Regions from separate parts of the Homo sapiens genome. Here all the other regions are linked to region 4. The links are contacts of gene promoters, found by promoter capture Hi-C in blood cells and fetal thymus (Javierre and others, 2016). All regions are on one chromosome and are shown on one strand. Each heading gives the region's core, a stretch centred on a gene start or on the middle of the fragment in contact. The rest is flanking DNA. Distances are from core to core; before and after follow the strand shown. Region 1 holds the start of TMEM50B (transmembrane protein 50B). Region 2 overlaps IFNGR2 (interferon gamma receptor 2). Region 3 overlaps TMEM50B (transmembrane protein 50B). Region 4 holds the start of EPCIP (exosomal polycystin 1 interacting protein).

Region 1 (4,665 bases), core at 1,152-3,651, 670 kb after region 4:
ACGTCTGTAATCCCAGCACTTTGGGAGGCCGAGGCGGGGGGGGGTTACCTGAGGTCAGGAGTTCGAGTCTCTACTAAAAATACAAAAATTAGCTGGGCGTGGCGGCGGGCGCCTGTAATCCCAGTTTACTTGGGAGGCTGAGACAGGAGAATCGTTTAAACCTGGGAGGCGGAGGTTGCAGTGAGCCACGATAGCGCCATTGCACTCCAGCCTGGGCAACAAGAGCAAAACTCGGCCTCAAAAATTATATATATATATACATAAGTTAAAAATAAACTTTAGGCCGGGCACAGTGGCTCACGCCTGTAATCCCAGCACTTTGGGAGGCTGAGGCAGGTGGATCACGAGGTCAGGAGATCGAGACCATCCTGGCTAACACGGTGAAAACCCGTCTTTACTAAAAATACAAAAAATTAGCCGGGCGTGGTGGTGGGCGCCTGTAGTCCCAACTACTAGGGAGGCTGAGGCAGGAGAATGGCGTGAACCCAGGACGTGGAGCTTGCAGTGAGCCGAGATCTTGCCACTGCACTCCAGCCTGGGAGACAGAGCAAGACTCTGTCTCAAAAAATAAATAAATAAATAAATTTAAAAATAATAATAATACACTTTAAAAGGCCAGGCGCGGTGCCCACACCTGTAATCCCAGTACTTTCAGAGACCGAGGCAAGCGGATCACTTGAGGTCAGGAGTTCAAGACCAGCCTGGCCAACATGGTGAAACTCTCTCTCTACTAAGAATATAAAAATTAGCCAGGCATGGTGGCAGGCGCCTGTGATCCCAGCTACTCGGGAGGCTGAGGCTGTAAAATCCCTTTAACCCTAGAGGTGCAGGCTGCAGTGAGCAGAGATCGGGCCACTGTACTTGTAGCCTGGTCAACGAGGGAGACTCTGTCTCAAAAAAAACAGAAAAGGAAAATGAGGATAAAATACGATAAATTCTTTACCTTGGCCCCCAGAAGTGAATTCAGAATTCAGAAAAGACTAGCCAGTGTAAGGCTGCTGTAACCCTAGTTGACAGAGAGGAGGGATTGGGGTGGTGAGTGGGAAGGCTGTGTCTCCGGAAGAAGAAATATACGTCCCCACCTCACTCTAATTAAACCTGCTTTTCCAGCGCGATAAATATTCAAGATAACTTTTGGTTTGCATTTCAATAACAAAGTCTTGCACCACTATCTTCAGTTTAAAAAAAAAGTTTAATGTTTGCTCTACGTTTGAAATGCATGCAGGTTTAAAAGACAAGAAACAAAATGATGAAAAAGTGTGACCGGCCTGAGAGTTCAGAGCCTCTGAAGTGTCAAGGGATCCACAGTGCAGGTAGGATGAAGAGTCTGAGAAGGGAGATGGGATCCTCCGAAAAGAGAAAATCGGGTCTTACAGCGCGATGTAAGACGATGCGGATGCCACTTCCCTCCCACCCCGTCCCGTCCGAGGCCTCCGCCCCCTGCCCCTCCGCACCCCCCGACCCAGGCACGCGCAGCGGGGAGCAGCCCAGCCTAGCCCGTCTCACTGCTTTGGTTTTGAAAGGTCACGTATTTACCTTAGAATTTCAGCACCTTCCAACTTACTGTTTTAAGTACCTTTAACCAGCCTATTGGCTAAAAACCGAAACGGTCCTACCCGCGACTACCACTGCTCCAGTGACAATGCTCTGCTGCTACTTATTTAACGGAGCTCAAGGTTTATAATTCTCGAAAGAATGTTGTTCCCCTTCCCTTTCCCCTCCCGCCTCTGTACTTGACTCTCGTAAGAATGAAATCAGAAAAGTGCAGAAAACACAGGCTCCTAGCAATGGTTCGGGGCAAACGGGAGGGGCGAAGAAGGGCTGGAGCCGCCCCGGGGCCCTCGCTCCGGCCTCGGGAGGGCGTCGCGGCCGCAGCAGGGCGTCCCGAAAACCGTCGCCTCCGTGCCCGCCGCGCGAGAAGGTGAAAGGCACGAGATGGAGCCTCTCCAGCCCTCCCCAGGAACGCAACCTGACGGCGTGACAGCGCGGCAGGGCAGCCTCCCCGGGCTGCTTGCGGGTCGCGGCGGCGCCACGGTCACGGTCGGCCCGAAGGGACGCGGGCAGGGGCAAGAAGGGGCGGCGGGGGCTCCGCGGGCCCGAGTCTGCAGGCCGGCGCCGAACGCAGGGAAAACCCGGCTGGACGGCCCCACAGCCCCCAGAAGGCCGGGCCGGACAGGGCCCGACGAGGGAGCCTCCTTACGCGCGGGCGGCGGGCGCGAGCCCTCTACGGTTGCCTGGCGCCGGAGACCCACAGACAGGACTCACCCAGCTTCCTCAAACGCCCACGCCGACTTCAGGCGCGCGCGCAGGAAGGAGACTGCTGCGCCACAACCCTGCCGGCGTCCCGCGGCTCCACCTCAGCCCCGGGAGCCCGGAGCTGGGAGCAGACGCGAGGATAGAGCGCCGGTGAGGCGGGGCGAGGCGCCGTGTGCACCGCAGCGACCAATCGGAGCGCAGCAAGTGGCCGGCCGGGGGCGGGGCGGGACGCGAGGGGGCGGGGAGAGGGCGTTGGCTGGGCGCAGCGGGACGCCGGGCGCTCCTCGCGACCAATCGGCGTGCAGCAAGTGGCCGGCCGGGGGCAGGGCGAGCTCCGAGGGACGGGGTGGGCTGCTCTGCAGGCCTCCCGGAGCCGGAGTTCAGACCCAGCTATCTACGGTTCCGGGCAGAGCGGGACGGGCCTCTCCTGTCCCCTGCCGGTGGGCGGCCGCCGCCGGGCTCCCACTGCTGCGTTTCTGCACGCTGACTTGAAGTGCAGTACCGTGAGATTACGTGCGGACGGAGCTCGAGACCCGGGGGACCAGGGTTTCCCTTCGCCTATGGCCGATCAGTCTTGTCTGTCTGCGAGCTGCCCAGAGTAGGGAAGGTGCTCCGGGAGGGTTCTCGGGAACGGAGGGTCTTTAGAGATGCCTTTTTCTAATCCCCTCAATTCAGAAATGGAGCCCCAGAAAGTTGAAGTTAGTAAACCAGGGCTACCCAGCGAGTGCTGGTTACCCGAGGTGATCCTCACAATACAACTAGTCTTCTGATTTCGCTCGGCGCTCTCCCGTCTATTCACGTAGATTTTTGTCTTTTTTTTTTTTTTTCGTCTTTCTTATAGTCAGATATCTTTCAGCCTCTTGGATTTTCAACATAACTTTAACAGCGTTTGGAAGCCCCGTCTAAATTTCCTACAGAAATGCCTATAACCATTTAGTTGTTTGGGGGAAAGTCGAGCTTTGTTTTTTGGGTGGTTTGTTTGTTTGTTTTGAGACAGGGTCTTGCTCTGTTGTCCAGGGTGGAGTGCAGTGGTGTGATCTTGGCTCACTGCAGCCTCTTACCTCCCACGCTCAATCAATCCTCCCACCTCAGCCTTCCGAGTAGCTGGGATTACAGGTGCGCACCACCATGCTTGGCTAATTTGTGTATTTTTAGTAGAGACGGGATTTCACCTGGCTGATCCTGAACTCCTGACCTCAGGTGATCCACCCGCCTCTGCCTCCCAAAATGCTGGGATTACAAGCGTGGGCCACTGTGCCCAGCCAAGTAGAGTTATTATCAGTGGAAATCTAAAAAGCATTTTACTTGAGGCATAATGAAGTAAAAGGTTTTGTATCATGGAATTATCACCAAAAATGCCATCCTGGATAATGTTCTCCTATAGCTCTTATACATGGGCTAGGATCTAGGTGTTCAATAAATATGTGCTGAATAATTTACTTTTGAAATATGTCACAATGCTGGCATTCCACCAGAAGAGAGGATACAGAAGGGAACACTCTCCTCTCTTTAAGAACCTTTTGAAAGGGGCGGGGGTTGCATGTACCATTTTTGTTTTCATTCTGCTAGTAAAATAGTCACTTGACTACACCAAATTGCAAAGAAGGCTGGAAAATGGGGTTTCAGTACTAAGGAAGGAAAACTAGATATTAGGGGACAATTAGAAGTTTCCAAATCTCATCACTTTTTTTGGGGGGGTGGGGGAGGCATCCCAAAGGGCAGACTGGTTTATTAGGCAGCAGCCAGGAAAATCAGCGGTTGGACTTGTCCCCACACTCCAGCTCATCCTTCTTGTTGATGGCATAGGAGCTGGAGGAGGCCTTGGTGGCATTGATGAGCTCATCCGCCAGGCACTCAGCAATGGTCTTGATGTTCCAGAAGGCAGCCTCACGAGTGCCTGTGCACAGCAGCCAGACGACCTGATTCACACAGTGCAGTGGGGACATGTCCACAGCCTGTTGTCTCACAGTCCCTGCTCGCCCAATGCATGTGGAGTCCTCCCAGGGACCACTGTTGATGATGGCGTTCACCAGGACCTGGAGAGGGTTCTCGCCTGTGAGCAGGTGGATGAAATCGAAGGCATGCTTGATGATGCACATGATCATGAGCTTGTTGCTGTTGTTGCAGCCGTGCATCATCATGGAGTTAGTGAGGGGCTCCACAATGGGGCACTGAGCTTTGCGGAAGCATTTGGCTGCATACCACCCAGCACTGTGAGGCAGGTACTTGGCATACTTCTCCTTCACTGCAGTGTAATCCTGCAGGGAAATGCCATTGATCTGCATATCATCAGTGCTCCACTTCCCAGAGAGCTTGATGTCAAGGGGTCTCTGCCACTGCTGGTGCTGCTGTCTCCCACTCGGTCATCCTGAGGGCACAGCCTGAGTGTCTCTGTCGATCAGCATGGAC
Region 2 (5,373 bases), core at 1,211-3,710, 620 kb after region 4:
CAGAGTTTCAGTTCTGGGGCTGTACAGAGTTCTGGAGATGGATGGTGGTCATGATTGCACAATGTGAATGTGCTTGGCACTACCGAACTGTACACCTAAAAAGAGTTATGATGGTACATTTTATGTTATGTGTATTTTACCACAATTTAATTTTTTTTTTTTAATGGCATGGGGTTGGCTAAAAAGGTGGCCTGGCCTGGAGATTGGCTGCAGTAGACCCCTCTCCGAGGCAGCAGGTCTCCTCTGCTGTCTGGAGAATGCTCCAGGGAAGTGGCCTGGCTGGAGGACGTGAAGGCGGTGGAGACAGTGATCAGGAGCTTGAGCTTTGGGGCCCACAGGGTGCTTAGGAGGGCCCTAAGGCAGAGTCAACACCCAGAGCTGTGAGTGCCAGGCCCCGTGTACCCATTGCCCAGTGGGTATTGCTAATATTTGAAAGGACTTGAGAAAGAACAGTAGCGTGGGTCTTGTGGAAAGTCTTATTTTCCTGCATAACCCCAGCCCCCTGAGGCTCTGTGAGGCCATTGGGCCTTCTGAGGACACGGTCAGGACATTTTGGGGATCAGAGGCGAGCTGAGAGAAGAACATTTAAAAAGCATTTGCAGCCGGGCGCAGTGACCCACACCTGTAATCCCAGGACTTGGGGAGGCCAGGGTGGGCAGATCACCTGAGGTCAGGAGTTCGAGACCAGCCTGGCCAACATGGTGAAACCCTGTCTCTACCAAAAATACAAAAATTAGCCGGGCGTGGTGGTGGGCGCCTGTAATCCCAGCTACATGAGAGGCTGAGGCAGGAGAATTGCTTGAACCCAGGAGGTGGAAGTTACAGTAAGCCAATATCGCACCATAGCACTTTAGCTTGGGTGGCAGAGCAAGACTCCATCTCAAAAAAATAAAATAAATAAAAAGCATTTGCTTCTGGAGGCTTCACATTATTCTTGGGTAAACCTAGAGTAAAGGTGTTGGAAGCAGAATGTTACTCAGTTACATGTGGGATGAACAGAGGTTAGATAAGGTCCAAGTCTGCAGAAACATAGCAGCACTTTCAGAAAGAACCCTAGTCACTTGTTCCTTCATCTGCCATGATGTATTGTAGGTACACAGGCAGTATACAGATTCCCTACTAGAACCTCCCTGGTTAATATTGTCACAAAATCACAGCTCCTAACAGGTCTCAGAATCTTACTTGCAGTAATAATCTCTCTCTCTCCTGGTAGAACTACCAGCTGAGCCCCAGTACATGAATATACTATGAGTCATTCCTCTGAGACATGAACAGAAAACACAGGCCTGTCAGTTCACTTTTCTAGGAAAGCATAAAGAACATCCGCCAAAGGTCTCTGAGTTACATGGGAACAGTGAATCATGTTTCACTTATAATTCTGGGGTTTCACAAGGGTACATGTTTTGGTTTTGTTCCTCTTTCAGTCAGTCAGCTACAAGCTTATTGTCTTCCAGTATCTTTCAGCATTTCCAAGAGCTAGACACTAGATTCTTGGTAACTTGGTGAATCTATGGCTAAGCCTAAAGCCTGCGGGAGCAAAAGGGAAATTAATCGCTGGGAAACACCCCTTTATATGTTAAGGCCTAAGGCCCTCGCTCCCAGATTCTCTGCTTGCTGTGCGCTGGTGCAAGGGGAGGGGTGGAGGAGTGCCTGAGACCAATGCTTGTGAACTTGCCCTCTTTTTCCCCATCACAGCTGAACAAGAGCCCCCAGTCCCTCCTTCACTGAAAGGTTACAATTTTAGAGACGTCTTAAGATTAATAACCCACAGGCCTACACTGAGGGTTGCAAGGAAGAACTTGCTTTTCTTCCAATCAGAAAATCAGAAGAAAAAAACAAAACTTGCTTTTCCTGAGTTTTGCCCTTTTAAACTCTCAGCATATTAACATGGTCAGCCCTGGGATGAGTATTAAAGTGATTACTGAGATGAGGGGTAAGGAGTATTCAACTATTAGAAGTTGTTGGCTGGGTGAGGTGGCTCATGCCTGTAATCCCAGCACTTTGAGAGGCCGAGGTGGGTGGATCATGAAGTCAGGAGATCGAGACCATCCTGGCCAACAGGGTGAAACCCTGTCTCTACTAAAAATACAAAAATTACCCAGGCATGGTGGCATGCGCCTGTAGTCCCAGCTACTTGGGAGGCTGAGGCAGGAGAATCACTTGAACCCAGGAGGCGGAGGCTGCAGTGAGCTGAGATCCACGCCACTGCACTCCAGCCTGGCAACAGAGCAAGACTCCGTCTCAAAAAAAAAAAAAAAAAAAAAAAAATTAGCCAGCCGTGGTGGTGCACGCCTGCAATCCTAGCTACTTGGTTGGGAAGCTGAGGCAGGAGAATTGCTTGAACCCAGGAGGCGGAAGTTGCAGTGAGCCGAGATCGCGCCACTGCACTCCAGCCTGGGCGAAAAAGAGACTGACTCAACAACAATAAAAAATTGTTGCCGGGTGCAGTGGCTCACACCTGCAATCCCAGCACTTTGGGAGGCCGAGGCGGGCGGATCACCTGAGGTCAGGAGTTCGAGACAGCCTGACCAACATGGGAAACCCCGTCTCTACTTAAAATACAAAATTAGCAGGGTGTGGTGGTGCATGCCTGTAATCCCAGCTACTTGGGAGGCTGAGGCAGAGGTTGCAGTGAGATGAGATCGTGTCATTGCACTCCAGCCTGGGCAACAACGTGAAACTCCGTCTCAAAAAAAAAAAATTGTTTCATTGTTGAATAAAAAGAAAAATAAGTTATGTCATTGGTGGACAGAATCAACTTATATCTGAATAAAATAACTATACCAATTAAAACTAAAGTAGGCCAGGCGTAGTGGCTCACGCCTATAATCCCAGCACTTTGGGAGGCCAAGGTGGGTGGATCATTTGCGATCAGGAGTTTGAGACCAGCGTGGCCAACATAGTGAAACCCTGTCTCTACTAAAAATACAAAATTAGCCAGGCAAGGTGGTGGGCACCTGTAGTCCCAGCTACTTGGAGGATTGAGGCAGGAGAATCGCTTGAACCTGGGAAGCAGAGGTTGCAGTGAGCTGAGATCACACCACTATACTCCAGCCTAGGCAAGAGTAAGACTCCATCTCAAAAAAAAAATAAAAATAAAAATAAAATAAAAACAAAAACTAAAGTTAAAAGGTCTGGTATACTGAACTGGTAAACTAATTACAATTTTGCTTTCCAACCTCCTCAAGTATTTAAAAGACCCAACTCAGCCCATCTTAGAGGCCTTGGACAAGGACAGCTCACCAAAGGATGACGTCTGGGACTCTGTGTCCATTATCTCGTTTCCGGAAAAGGAGCAAGAAGATGTTCTCCAAACGCTTTGAACCAAAGCATGGGCCTAGCCCACTGGCTCCCTGGAAGAGATCAAGCCATCGGAGCTGCTAGAGTTCTGTCTGGACTTTCCAGAGACCAGTATTCCCTTTTGCTGCCTCTAAAAGGCCTGTCCCTGCAGACATGAGAGACAGCAGGTCTCATGGGGGTGACAAGCTTTTTTTTTTTTTCTTAAAGAATTTTCAAAATCAAATTCCAGAATGATTTTACGGAGATATCCCAGGAAAATTAAGGCTTCTCTTAAACACTAAAAAGGCATGTAATTGCTTGTTAGCAAAATGGATATGACACATCTCTGATACTTTTTTCATTATTGGTTGGGCTGAGCAGTCAGAAGACCTGGTCGTCGTCTTGACTTTGGCAAATGAGCCGGAGCCCCTTGGGCAGGTCACACAACCTGTCCCAGCGAGGGACACCGAGTGGCCCTTCATGTACATCCATGGTGTGCTGGCTTAAAATGTAATTAATCTTGTAAATATACTCCTAGTAATTTAAGATTTTGTTTTTAAACTGGAAATAAAAGATTGTATAGTGCATGTTTTTTAAAGTCTATGTGAAGTGTTTTCTTTATTGTAGCCTATTTTCTGCAGAGTTTCAGCTTTCTAAAATTACTCAATCTAAACTTGTTTTTTCTTAAATAACACCTGCTAGAGCTACTGAGGCCTCATGGGAACTCAGCAAACACTTCCTATGGATGTCACTTGATCCTCCAAAGGTTATAAAGAAGGCCAGGGCCTAGTGCAGTGGCCCACGCCTATAATCCCAGCACTTTGGGAGGCTGAGGTGGGTGGATCACTTGAGGCCAGGAGTTCTAGACCCACCTGGGCAACATGGTGAAACCCTGTCTCTATGAAAAATGCAAAAATTATCCAGGCATGATGACATGCACCTGTAGTCCCAGCTACTTGAGAGGCTAAAGTGGGAGGATGCTTTAGCCTGGGAGGCGGAGGTTACCATGAGCCGAAATGATGCCACTGCACTCCAGCGTGGGAGGCAGAGCGAGACCCTATCTCAAAAAAAAAAAAAAAAAGAGGGCTGGGCATGGTGGCTCATGCCTGTAATCCCAGCACTTTGGGAGGTCAAGATGGGAGGATCGCTTGAGGCCAGGAGTTTGAGAACAGCCTGGGCAACATAGTGAGACCTTGTTTTCACAAAAAATAAAAAATTAGCTAGTCGTGGTGGTGCACACCCGTAGTCCCAGCTACTCAGGAGGCTGAGACCAGAGGATCATTTGAGCCTAGGAGTTAGGAGTTCAAGGCTGCAGTGAGCAATGATTACACCACTACATTCCAGCCTTGGCAACAGAGCAAGAGACCCTGTCTCAAAAATATAAAAGTTATAAGGGGGATTTGCAGAAGGCACATTAGCACTTCATTTATATGTGACAAGTCACACTGTGTTGACCAAGGCAGGGATTTGTGGGCAATAAAGAGAATTAACTGATTAATCAATAGTAATGTTATCTACTGAGCACGCAAGTCATCTGATTGTGTCAGTACTGTCGGGCTCTGTTGTTCAAAGGATATGTATTTAAAATCCATTTATAGGCTGGGCACGGTGGCTCACACCTGTAATCCCAGCACTTTGGGAGGCCGAGGCAGGCAGATCACCTGAGGTCAGGAGTTCGAGACCAGCCTGGCCAACATGGTGAAAGCCTGTCTCCACTAAAAGCACAAAAATTAGCTGAGTGTGGTGGCAGGCACCTATAATCCCAGCTACATGGGAGGCAGTTGGGGCCCTGTACTGCTGGTAAGAAAGTGGCTTTTTTTTTTTCTTTTGAGACAGAGTCTCACTCTGTCGCCCAGGCTGGAGCGCAGTGGCGCGATCTCAGCTCGCTGCAACCTCCACCTCCCAGGTTCAAGCAATTCTCCTGCCTCAGCCTCCCGAATAGCTGGGATTACAGGCGTGCACCACTATGCCTGGCTAATTTTTGTATTTTTAGTAGAGATGGGGTTTCACCATGTTGGCCAGGCTGGTCTCGAACTCCTGACCTCATGATCCACCCACCTTGGTCTCCCAAAGGGTTGAGATCACAGGCGTGAG
Region 3 (5,023 bases), core at 1,515-4,014, 640 kb after region 4:
AACTGCATCCCAAAACAAAGCTTAAAAACATTTAAAGGACTAGCAAAGATCCAGTCCCAACAAATTGTATGCAAAGCACCAAATAAGGGAAAATAGGTCCAAAATGAAGAGTAAACAGAAGCAGAAAAAATCAGTAGAAGCAGATGCAGAAATGACACAGACAATTGGACAAGGACCCTGAGATAGCTATAAATATACTCTGTGTGTTCAAGGTGGAAGAGGGCATGAGCATGTTAAGGGAAGACATCAGAAATATTTTTAAAGACCCAATCAAGCTTCTAGAGAGAGAAAATACAATGTCTGAGATGAAAAAATCATTGGATGGCATAGATTAGACATTGCAGAAGTAGAGATTAATTTATTTAATTCTTCAAAGTGACAATAGAGAGATTAATTTTATTTATTTATGTATTTATTTATTTTGAGATGAAGTCTCGCTCTGTTGCTCAGCAATGGTGTGATCTCAGCTCACTGCAACCTCAGCCTCCCGGGTTCAAGTGATTCTCTGGCCTCAGCCTTCCGAGTAGCTGGGATTCCAGGCATGCACCACCATGCCCAGCTAATGTCTGTATTTTTAGTAGAGATGAGGTTTCACCATGTTGGCCAGGCTGGTCTCGAACTCCTGACCTCAAGTGATCCACCCGCCTTGGCCTCCCAAAGTGTTGAGATTACAGGTGTGAGCCACCATGCCCAGCCGAGATTAATTTTAAAATGTAACAATAGAAACTATCCAAACTGAAACACAAACAGGAAAAAAAAATCTGACCATTAGCAAGCTGTGAGACAACTTCGAGCAGCCTATTATAACCTGTAATTGAAATCCCAGAGGGAGGGTGCAGTGGATACAAAAAATGCTTGAAGAAATAATGGCTGAGAAGAATCTAGATTTATTGATGAACTATAAACCTATAGATCCAAGAAACTCAATATACACCAAGCAGAAGGAATATCAAGAAAACTAGACCACAGTACATCGTAATCAAATTACTTAAAACCAGTGACAAAAGCAAAGTTTTTCAAGGCTTAGAAGTTACTTAATGATTTATGGGGGATGGGGACAGAGGCAGATAAAATTTTATAAATATATACCTAAATATCCTATGTTGACATTAAAAGACATTCATTCTAGGCTGGGCATGGTGGCTCACACCTGTAATCCTACCACTTTGGGAGGCTGAGGTGGGCAGATCACTTGAGGTCAGGAGTTCGAGACCGGCCTGGTCAACATGGCAAAACCCCATCTCTACTAAAAATACAAAAATTAGCTGGGTGTGGCAGTGCATGCCTGTAATCCCAGCTACTTGGGAGGCTGAGGCACGGAATTGCTTGAGCCTGGGAGGCAGAGGTTGCATTGAGCTGAGATTGCACCACTGCACATCAGCCTGGGCAACAGAGCGAGAATCCAGCTCAAAAAAAAAAAAAAAAAAGACATTCATTCTAAAAAGCATAGAATGGACTTCATTTTGGGGATATTTTAGAAGACTGCCCCTAAAAAATACTTTTAATATTGGTTTATTTTTCCACTTACTTTAACTTTTCTTAAAAGGGCATTCAGAAAACAGAATTTCCCAACAGGTTTTGTATATAATATGCATACTATGTATTAATTATTATTATTATTTTGATATGGAGTCTTGCTCTGTCACCCAAGCTGAAATGCAGTGGCACTATCTCGACTCACTCCAACCCCCGTGTCTCCTGGGTTCAAGTGGTTCTCCTGCCTCAGCCTTCCGAGTAGCTGGGATTACAGGCACACACCACCATGCCCGACTAATGTTTGTATTTTTATTAGAGATGGGGTTTCACCATGTTGGCCAGGCTGGTCTCGAACCCCTGACCTCAGATGATCCACCCACTTCAGCCTCCCAAAGTGCTGGGATTACAGACATGAGCCACCACACCTGGCTGGCCACTAGGTATTAATTCTGGTTTTTCCTTTTTTCTTCATAAAGGTACTTTACCTGTTGTTGTTAATTTTTTTTTTCCCGAAAGGCTAGTCAAGTGAAACAATGGGTCTGATAGGGTTTTTTAATAAGACACAGGCTATGGAAGCAGCAGTCTGGATTCAAATCCAGGCTTCTCATTTACTAGCTAGGCATCCTAAAGCAAGCCCTAAACTTTATTTCCTCATCTATAAAATGGGAATAACACTGGGTGTGGTGGCTATAATCCCAGCACTTTGGGAGGCCGAGGCAGGCAAATTGTCTGAGCTCAGGAGTTCGAGACCACTCTGGGCAATATGGTGAAACCTCGTCTCTACTAAAATACAAAAAATTAGCTGGGTGTGGTGGTGTGCACCTGTAGTCCCACCTACTCGGGAGGCTGAGGCATGGGAATCGCCTGAGTCCCGAGGCGGAGGCTGCAGTGAGCCGAGATTGTTCCACTGCACTAAGGCAGCTTGGGCTACAGGGTGAGACTCCCTCGCAAAAAATAAATAAATAAATAAAAATAAAAATAAATAAAATGGGAATAACACCTGACATATATTTAAAATAATTAAATGCATTATTTTATTTTATTTTGGTCTCACTCTATTGCCCAGGCTGGAGTACAGTGGTGCAGCCTTGCCTCACTGCAGCCTCAACCTCCTCGGCTCAAGCAATCCTCCCACCTCAGCCTCTTGAGTAGCTGGCACTGTACACCACCACAACCAGATAATTTTTATATTTTTTTATAGAGACAGGGTTTTGCCATGTTGCCCAGGCTGGTCTTAAACTCCTAGACTTAAGCAATCCACCCACTTCAGCCTCCCAAAGTGCTGGGATTACAGGCATGAGCCACAGCACTTGGCCTAAATGTGAATTCAAAGGGTAAAATATATAAAGGATCCAGCTAAAGTCTTGATACACAGCAAGACCTCTAGTTAAAAGGCCTCTCTGCTCTTATGTAACAGTGGAATTCTCACCTTTTAAAAGAAGTTCTATCATTGTAACCAATCCATGGGATTTATATGTGTTCCATATATATGCTGCCTTAATTAAGTTGACATTTCTGTAAATGTTACAGGCGTGGTTAAAAAATAAGGCAACTTACCTAAAAAATATAAGTGCATTTTGAAAAAACACAGCTAGTCCCGGATAAACATCAGTATCTACATACACAAAGTAAAACAGATTAGACGGTTATATAGGCAAACGGCAGTAATAAAGTATCAGTGCCATTCATAATGATACATTTTGTATATTACAACATACTGCTATTATTCATTAACTGTAAGACATCTATAATGAAACTGAAAGAAGAAAATGCCAATTTAATTCCCCCAAAGCAAAGGACTGCTCTTACTCTGGATAAAAGTCAATGAACTTACAAAGTTTTCTTTTAGTCAAAGTAATTGCTGGTTCTAGCTACATCAAAACTGCTGAGGAAGCAGTAACTTGCTCCTTTGCCTCCTATGGCCAACACTGAAATGCAAAATCGTAAAAACATACAAAATAAATTCTTGACTTTTAAACAGTCTGTTAATTTATTTTCTTTCATGAATTCAAGAGGTTTTTTGTGTTTGTTTTTAAAGAAATGGGGCCTCACTATATTGCCCAGACTGGAGTGCAGCAGCTACTGACAGGCACAATCATAGCAAACTACAGCCCAAACTCCTGGGCTCAAGTGATCCTCCTGCCTCAGCGTCCCAAGTGGATGGGACTACAGGCACACACCACAATGCCTGGCTCTCAATCCAGGAGTTTTATCATGCAAATATGTCAGATATAAATAACACAGTTAGAATTTATCATTCTCTTTCACTGAATCTATCCTGGAGGAAATGGTTACTATCTTTATAGGAAAAGAAAAGAAACAAAATGGAAACTACTTAAATTTTTGTGGATTATTAACTTTTGTAAAACTACAAATGTTGATTTAAAAAATACTGGAGAAGATGAAGAAACTGGTTCAATTCTGAGCTCTTGATATCATAGCAAACAATACAGCAGCATGGTTAAGAGCTCCAAGTTTGAGCCAGACCCAGGTTTGAATCCTATCTATACCAATGACTAACTGTATGACCTTGGGCAAATTATTTAACCTCAGCATATCTTCATTTCCTCACCTGTAAAACGGGCATTGTAATAGCACCTACTCCAGAGTGTAAGAATTAGATGAGTGACTCTATATAGTGCTTAGAACAGTATCTAGCCTATAAAGTAATATATAAAAGTTAGCTATTACTATGAATATTAATAGTTCAAGCAAATCTGTACAGTAAAAGATTTGAAACATGGCCTAGAAATGCTCTCTGAAATAAAGTCATATTCACTTTACAAATAGAAAAGTATATTTAGGCTGGGTGTGGTGACTCACGCTTGTAATCCCAGCACTTTGGGGGGCCGAGGCGGGTAGATCACTTGAGGTCAGGAGTTTGAGACCAGCCTGGCCAACATGGGGAAACCCTGTCTCTACTAAAAATACAAAATTAGCCAAGTGTGGTGGTGGATGGCTGTAATCCCAGCTACTTGGGAGATTGAGACAGGAGAATCACTTGAACCCAGGAGGCAGAGGTTGCCGTGGGCCAAGACTATACCACTGCACTCTAGCCTGGACGACAGGGCGAAACTCCATCTTAAAAAAAAAAGAAAAGTATATTTAAATGAGTAATGCTGTTGAAATAGAAAGATGAAATTCACAATCAAGAAATTTATCAATATTTACTAGTTCTTTAAATATTAAGATACAATTGGCTGGGAGCGGTGGTTCATGCCTGTAATCCCAACACTTTGGGAGGCCAAGGTGGGTAGATCGTCTGAGATCAGGACTTCAAGACCAGCTTGGCCAACATGGTGAAACCCTGTCTCTACTAAAAATACAAAAAATTAGCTGGGAGTCGTGGCAGGCGGCTATAATCCCAGCTATTCGGGAAGCTGAGGCAGGAGAATCGCTTGAACCCGGGAGGCAGAGGTTGCAGTGAGCCGAGACTGTGCCATTGCACTCCAGCCTGGGCGACAAGAGTGAAACTCCAACTCAAAAAAAAAAAAAAAAATACACTCAACAATAGTAAAGCCTTTACAAACAATATTTCCCTACATAC
Region 4 (4,738 bases), core at 35-2,534:
AAAGCTGATAATGTGGCAGCTTTAAGCAGTGAAAAATATTAGTGTGGAAAAGAAAGATGAGAAATCCAAGTCAGCTCTTGAAAAGCACTCATTTCCATAAATACTTTATTGAAACTGTTATTTTCAGAAAATGCCCAATTTCTGTCAGAAAAAAAAGTAATGAAAAGTCTTTTTTTTTCCTTCCAAACATATTGCATTATTTAGACTAAAAAAAAGCAAAAAACTTCTCAAGGATGGCTCTTTTCGGTAAAAAATTTTCAAACAAATGAAGTCTTTTTTTTGGTATTTTTTAAGGGTGGGTTTTTTATAAATATTATGCACAATGTTTTTGAAACATTTCCTGTCCTCAGTATACACCAACATACTTTTTGCTAAAAGCTTTCCAAAAATATGCTTATTAAACAAAGAAATAAATGCAAGACTGTATATGTTCTACTCATTTTGAATTAAAACATTCCCCTCTTCATCTTGCCTTTTGCTACATTATTTATCATGCTTTTTCACTTTTGAATAAAAGACCAATTTTTTAAAAACACGAACTATCCAATCCAAATGTTAATGCTCATCTTAGCTTACTTTCTTTTCTTTGTTTTCTAATCAGCAAACTCTATAAAGCCTGGTGTGTAAATAGGCAGTAAATATAATATTATTAAAAGATAAAACAGAGCAAAGAAACAGTATCAGCCGGTGTTTTGGGAGTTCTCACTTTTCTTTGTTTGTGATCACAATAAGGAAAAGAGATATCATATCTCTTTTCCTTAATTGTTATTTAGCATTGAAGACTAATGGAAAAGTCTAGCCAGATGTTTTAAAATAGAGACAAGATTTCAAGGAGCTATCTGTTATATTAGCTTTAAGTGAGTTTATCTTTTTAGGGTTTAAATGAGAAGACCATGTCATTCTTTGCTTAATGCACTGAAAATCTTTCATTTTAAAGGCAGAATCTCAGTAAAGAGGAATTCATATGCCTGGAAGCCTAAAAAAGTGTTTCATAGTGAAAGCCACTCATACATGTACATTATGTTCAGGAAATGCAAATGCAACAAGAAGGTGACCCTGACAATGGTTCTTCCAACCGTCACAGTTCCTGCCATGCAGCAGAAATTCTGAAGCTCTGAAAAACTGTCAGACTAGACATGCTTTTTAAAAAAGAAGAACACAGAAATTACTTACATCTGAGAGTTCCACCGTGAGGCCTCGCCTCTCCACTCCACAGACCTCTGCCTGGCCACGGATCCTTCACCCTGGCTTGACAGCTGGTTTAATCTGCAAGCCAGGGTGGAATGCGTGGTCTTGCACTTGCTGTTCTTTTCCGTCTTCGGAGGGCCAGCAGCCTGGTCATTTCCATGGCAACCAGGAGGAAGCTGCTGGCCTACCAGTCTCATTAACTACACGCAGGAGAGAACCTGCCTTGGTGACTGCTGACCACTCTTTTGGGGTTCTAAACTGGGAAGTTTCTAGAAGAAACTGAGGAGACTGTTGCTGTAGGCTGATCCCAAAGGATTGACACAAATGGAAGAAATTCTACTTTAGCAGGAAATTGAATGGATTAAATGTAGAGTACGGAGACTCCTTGATACTTTTACTTTCATGATTTATTCCACCTTTTTTGGTCTGATGAATTGTTACTTATGGTAAATGCCTGCACTACTGTATAAAGTGTCCTATCGTAGTTGTTCCAAAGAAAAAAAACTCATTTGAACTCCAAAGATAGACATTATTCTCTGTCTTTTTTAAAATTCATTTAAAAAAATATTAGAAGCCACAAAACCAATAAATAGGTAACAATTATTCTATGTACATTAACTGATAGTCCATGTGGGCTTCTATAACAAAATACCATTAGTTGGGTAACTTACAAACAACATATTTATTTCTGTAGGCTGGGAAGGCCAAGATCAAGGCAGATTTGTTTTCTGGTGAGGGTCTGCTTCCTGGTTCATAGATGGCACCTTCTAGCTGAGTCCTTACATGGTGGAAGGGAAACTGTGGTTTCTTCAGCTTCTTACAAGGGCACTAATCCCATTCATAAGGGCTCCACCCTCATGACCTAATCACATTCCAACATCTCCACCTCCTATGCTATCACATTAAGGATTAGGTTTCAATATATGTATTTTAAGGGAAGATAAATACCTGGGCCTTAACAACTGATGAAGTCTCACTAAATATGGGAAAAAAAGATAAGGCAGGGGTCCCCGATCTCCAGGCCACGGACTGGTACCAGTCCATGCTACAGTAGGAGTTGAGCAGTGGGTGAGCAAGAGAAGAAGCTTCATCTGTATTTACAGCCGCTCCCTATCAATCACATTACCACCTGAGCTCTGCCTTCTGTCAGATCAGCAGTGGCATTAGATTCTCATAGGATTGAATTGAGAATGCTATTCTATTGTGAACTATTGTGAACTGTGTATGCGAGGGATCTAGGTTGCATGCTCCATATGAGAATCTAATGCCTGATGATCTGTCACTGTCTCCCATCACCCCTAGATGGGACAGTCTAGTTGCAAGAAAACAAGCTCAGGGCTCTCACTGATTCTACATTATGGTGAGTGGTATAAGTATTTCATTATATATTATAATGCAATAATAATACAAAGTGCACAATAAATGTAATCGCTTGAATCATCCCCAAACCACCTCCTACCCCTGCCTGTCTGTGGAAAAATTATCTTCCATGAAACTGGTCTCTAGTGCCAAGAAGGGGACTGCTGAGATAAAGAAAAATCTTGCTAATTAAAAGCACTAGGAGTCTGGAGCAATTGATTTGTAATTACCCAGATACAGATTCTCCAATATGTTAAAGAAGAGAGCACCTCAGTAGGGAAATTTATTCATTCATTTATTTATTATTCATCTACTGAATCCTTACCACACACATGCACTGTGCCAGGAGATTTAAGGGGCACAGAGATCAATGTCATGGTTCTTGTCTTTAAGGAAGTTATACTATAGGAGGGGCAATTATGTAAGTTGCATCTGGGAAATGTTTGAAGGGAGATACAGACACAATGCAGGGGAATCCCAGTGAAGGTCGGCCTTTGCCAGGGAGACTGGTGAAGTCCTTGGGGAGAGGTAGTTTTGGATCTAGGCCTTAAGGGATGGCTGAGATCTGCATGGTCAGATGTGGGGGAAAGGACAACGATCTCTCATGGAGTGATTATTTGATGAACTGCGGATCCAAGCTGATGGATATATCCTTCCTCCTTTCTGCACCCAGAGAGCCTGGCACAAATGGCTTCTCGGTGGCCCACAGGATAAAGGAACTCAAGTAATTAAGAAAATTGCTGGAGCAAAGGTTTGGAGGTGGAAGAGTCCCAGGCCTATTCAGCCATTTGGAAAGCCAGTGAATCACAGCCAGAATAAAGGGAATTGAGAATAGAGAGAGGCTGCTATTGTTGGGTGATCAGTTTCAGCAAAGCACATATATGAATTCTACCATGTAAGAATAGCAAAGTGGATCTTGGTTCAAACCTTGAGTCTGTTACCTTCTTGCACATTATTTAAACTTTATAAGCCTCAGTTTCCTTATCTATAAAGTGGGTATAATAATACTTTGTTGAAAGGTAGAGCTGAGGAAAAAATGAGATAATATATGTGCACTGGATGCCTGAAGATGAGGGAGGGAAAGGCTGGCCAACAATACACCGAATACCCCAACTTTCCAGAGCAACTGTGGCTAATCCAATGGTTTGGCGTACTCAACCTCTATTTCAACATCTTTCTGTCTTGCCTGCCTCTACTGTAGAGACTGGAAATCTCTATTATTCAACACAACAGAGTCTCTTGAAGCTGAGGTTTCAGATGGGATTTAAGTTTTATTATTTATACTTGATTCAGAATGAAGTCACGTGGAGAGAGGATCCTGAGACTTTGGGAATGAATTAAGTGAGAAGAGAGAGGAGAGTACTGGGAATCTCTTGCTGGCCAGGGTCTCAGCAGATATGGCATGGTCTGTTGTGGGGGTGGCCTTCTGACTGAGTTGTTGACTGGTTGTGGCCAATATGGCATGGCTCAAGAGCTGAGGACTGTGGCACTAACTTCCTGTTGGAGAATGTGGCCTCTTAATTCAGCAACTTCCTGGTTGTGGATGAGGTAGTAGCTCCCCATGATGGTTCAATTCTATGGTGACTTTCAGAGTTCAGTCTAGAATCCATTTCTTCAGTCCTTCCAATGACTCAAGGCAGTATCTGTATATCTGAAGAAATTCCTGGTTTAAACCAGCTAGAGTAGACTCTGTTGCCTGTAACCAAGAACCCTGAATTATATACTAGTGCCTTAATTCTGTCCAATACAAGGTGACAGAGTTTGGATATATGTCCCCGCCCAAATATCATGTGGAATTGTAATCCCCAATGTTGGAGGTGGGGCCTGGTGGGAGATGATTGGATCATGAGGGTGGATTTCTCATGAATGCTTGATGCTGTCCTCACGATAGTGAGTTCTCATGAGATCTGGTTGTTTAAAAGTGTGTGGCACTTCCCCACACCTACTCCTGCTTTCCCCATGGGACACACCTGCTCCCCATTCACCTTCTCCACGATTGTAAGTTTCCTGAGGCCTCTTCAGAAGCCAAGCAGATGCTGCTATGCTTCCTGTACAGCCCACACAACCATGAGACAATTAAACCTCTTTTCTTTATAAATTACCCGGTCTCAGGTATTTCTTTATAGCAAGGCGAGAATGGCCTACTATACAAGGTAAGTGGAAGTTTGCTGGTACTGTCTCTTCTACTTCT

The links. The method cuts DNA at HindIII sites, captures the fragments that hold promoters and counts their contacts. A CHiCAGO score of 5 or more calls a contact.
Region 1: the fragment with the promoter of TMEM50B here is called in contact with the fragment with the promoter of EPCIP in region 4 in 13 of 17 cell types (naive CD8 T cells, total CD4 T cells, non-activated CD4 T cells and 10 more); the score reaches 15.1 in naive CD8 T cells.
Region 2: a fragment that was not itself captured here is called in contact with the fragment with the promoter of EPCIP in region 4 in 2 of 17 cell types (non-activated CD4 T cells and fetal thymus); the score reaches 7.4 in non-activated CD4 T cells.
Region 3: a fragment that was not itself captured here is called in contact with the fragment with the promoter of EPCIP in region 4 in 3 of 17 cell types (total CD4 T cells, monocytes and non-activated CD4 T cells); the score reaches 5.5 in total CD4 T cells.

Annotation. Positions count from the first base shown.
Region 1 is chr21:33,477,573-33,482,237 of GRCh38, forward strand. TMEM50B (transmembrane protein 50B) reads right to left here and starts at 2,402. Exons shown (of 7, transcript NM_006134.7): 1 at 2,266-2,402. It also overlaps the pseudogene RPS5P3. The HindIII fragment of the contact is 5,416 bases long and covers 1-4,665 here.
Region 2 is chr21:33,433,640-33,439,012 of GRCh38, forward strand. IFNGR2 (interferon gamma receptor 2) reads left to right here. Exons shown (of 7, transcript NM_005534.4): 7 at 3,189-3,877. The coding sequence ends at 3,323. It also overlaps a transcript of TMEM50B not described here. Among named protein-coding and RNA genes, the nearest start is that of IFNGR2, 33 kb to the left of the region's middle. The HindIII fragment of the contact is 2,047 bases long and covers 1,438-3,484 here.
Region 3 is chr21:33,452,694-33,457,716 of GRCh38, forward strand. It overlaps TMEM50B (transmembrane protein 50B), which reads right to left. Exons shown (of 7, transcript NM_006134.7): 6 at 3,034-3,091. Among named protein-coding and RNA genes, the nearest start is that of TMEM50B, 25 kb to the right of the region's middle. The HindIII fragment of the contact is 4,983 bases long and covers 274-5,023 here.
Region 4 is chr21:32,812,419-32,817,156 of GRCh38, forward strand. EPCIP (exosomal polycystin 1 interacting protein) reads right to left here and starts at 1,285. Exons shown (of 4, transcript NM_001162495.3): 1 at 1,174-1,285. The HindIII fragment of the contact is 1,895 bases long and covers 377-2,271 here.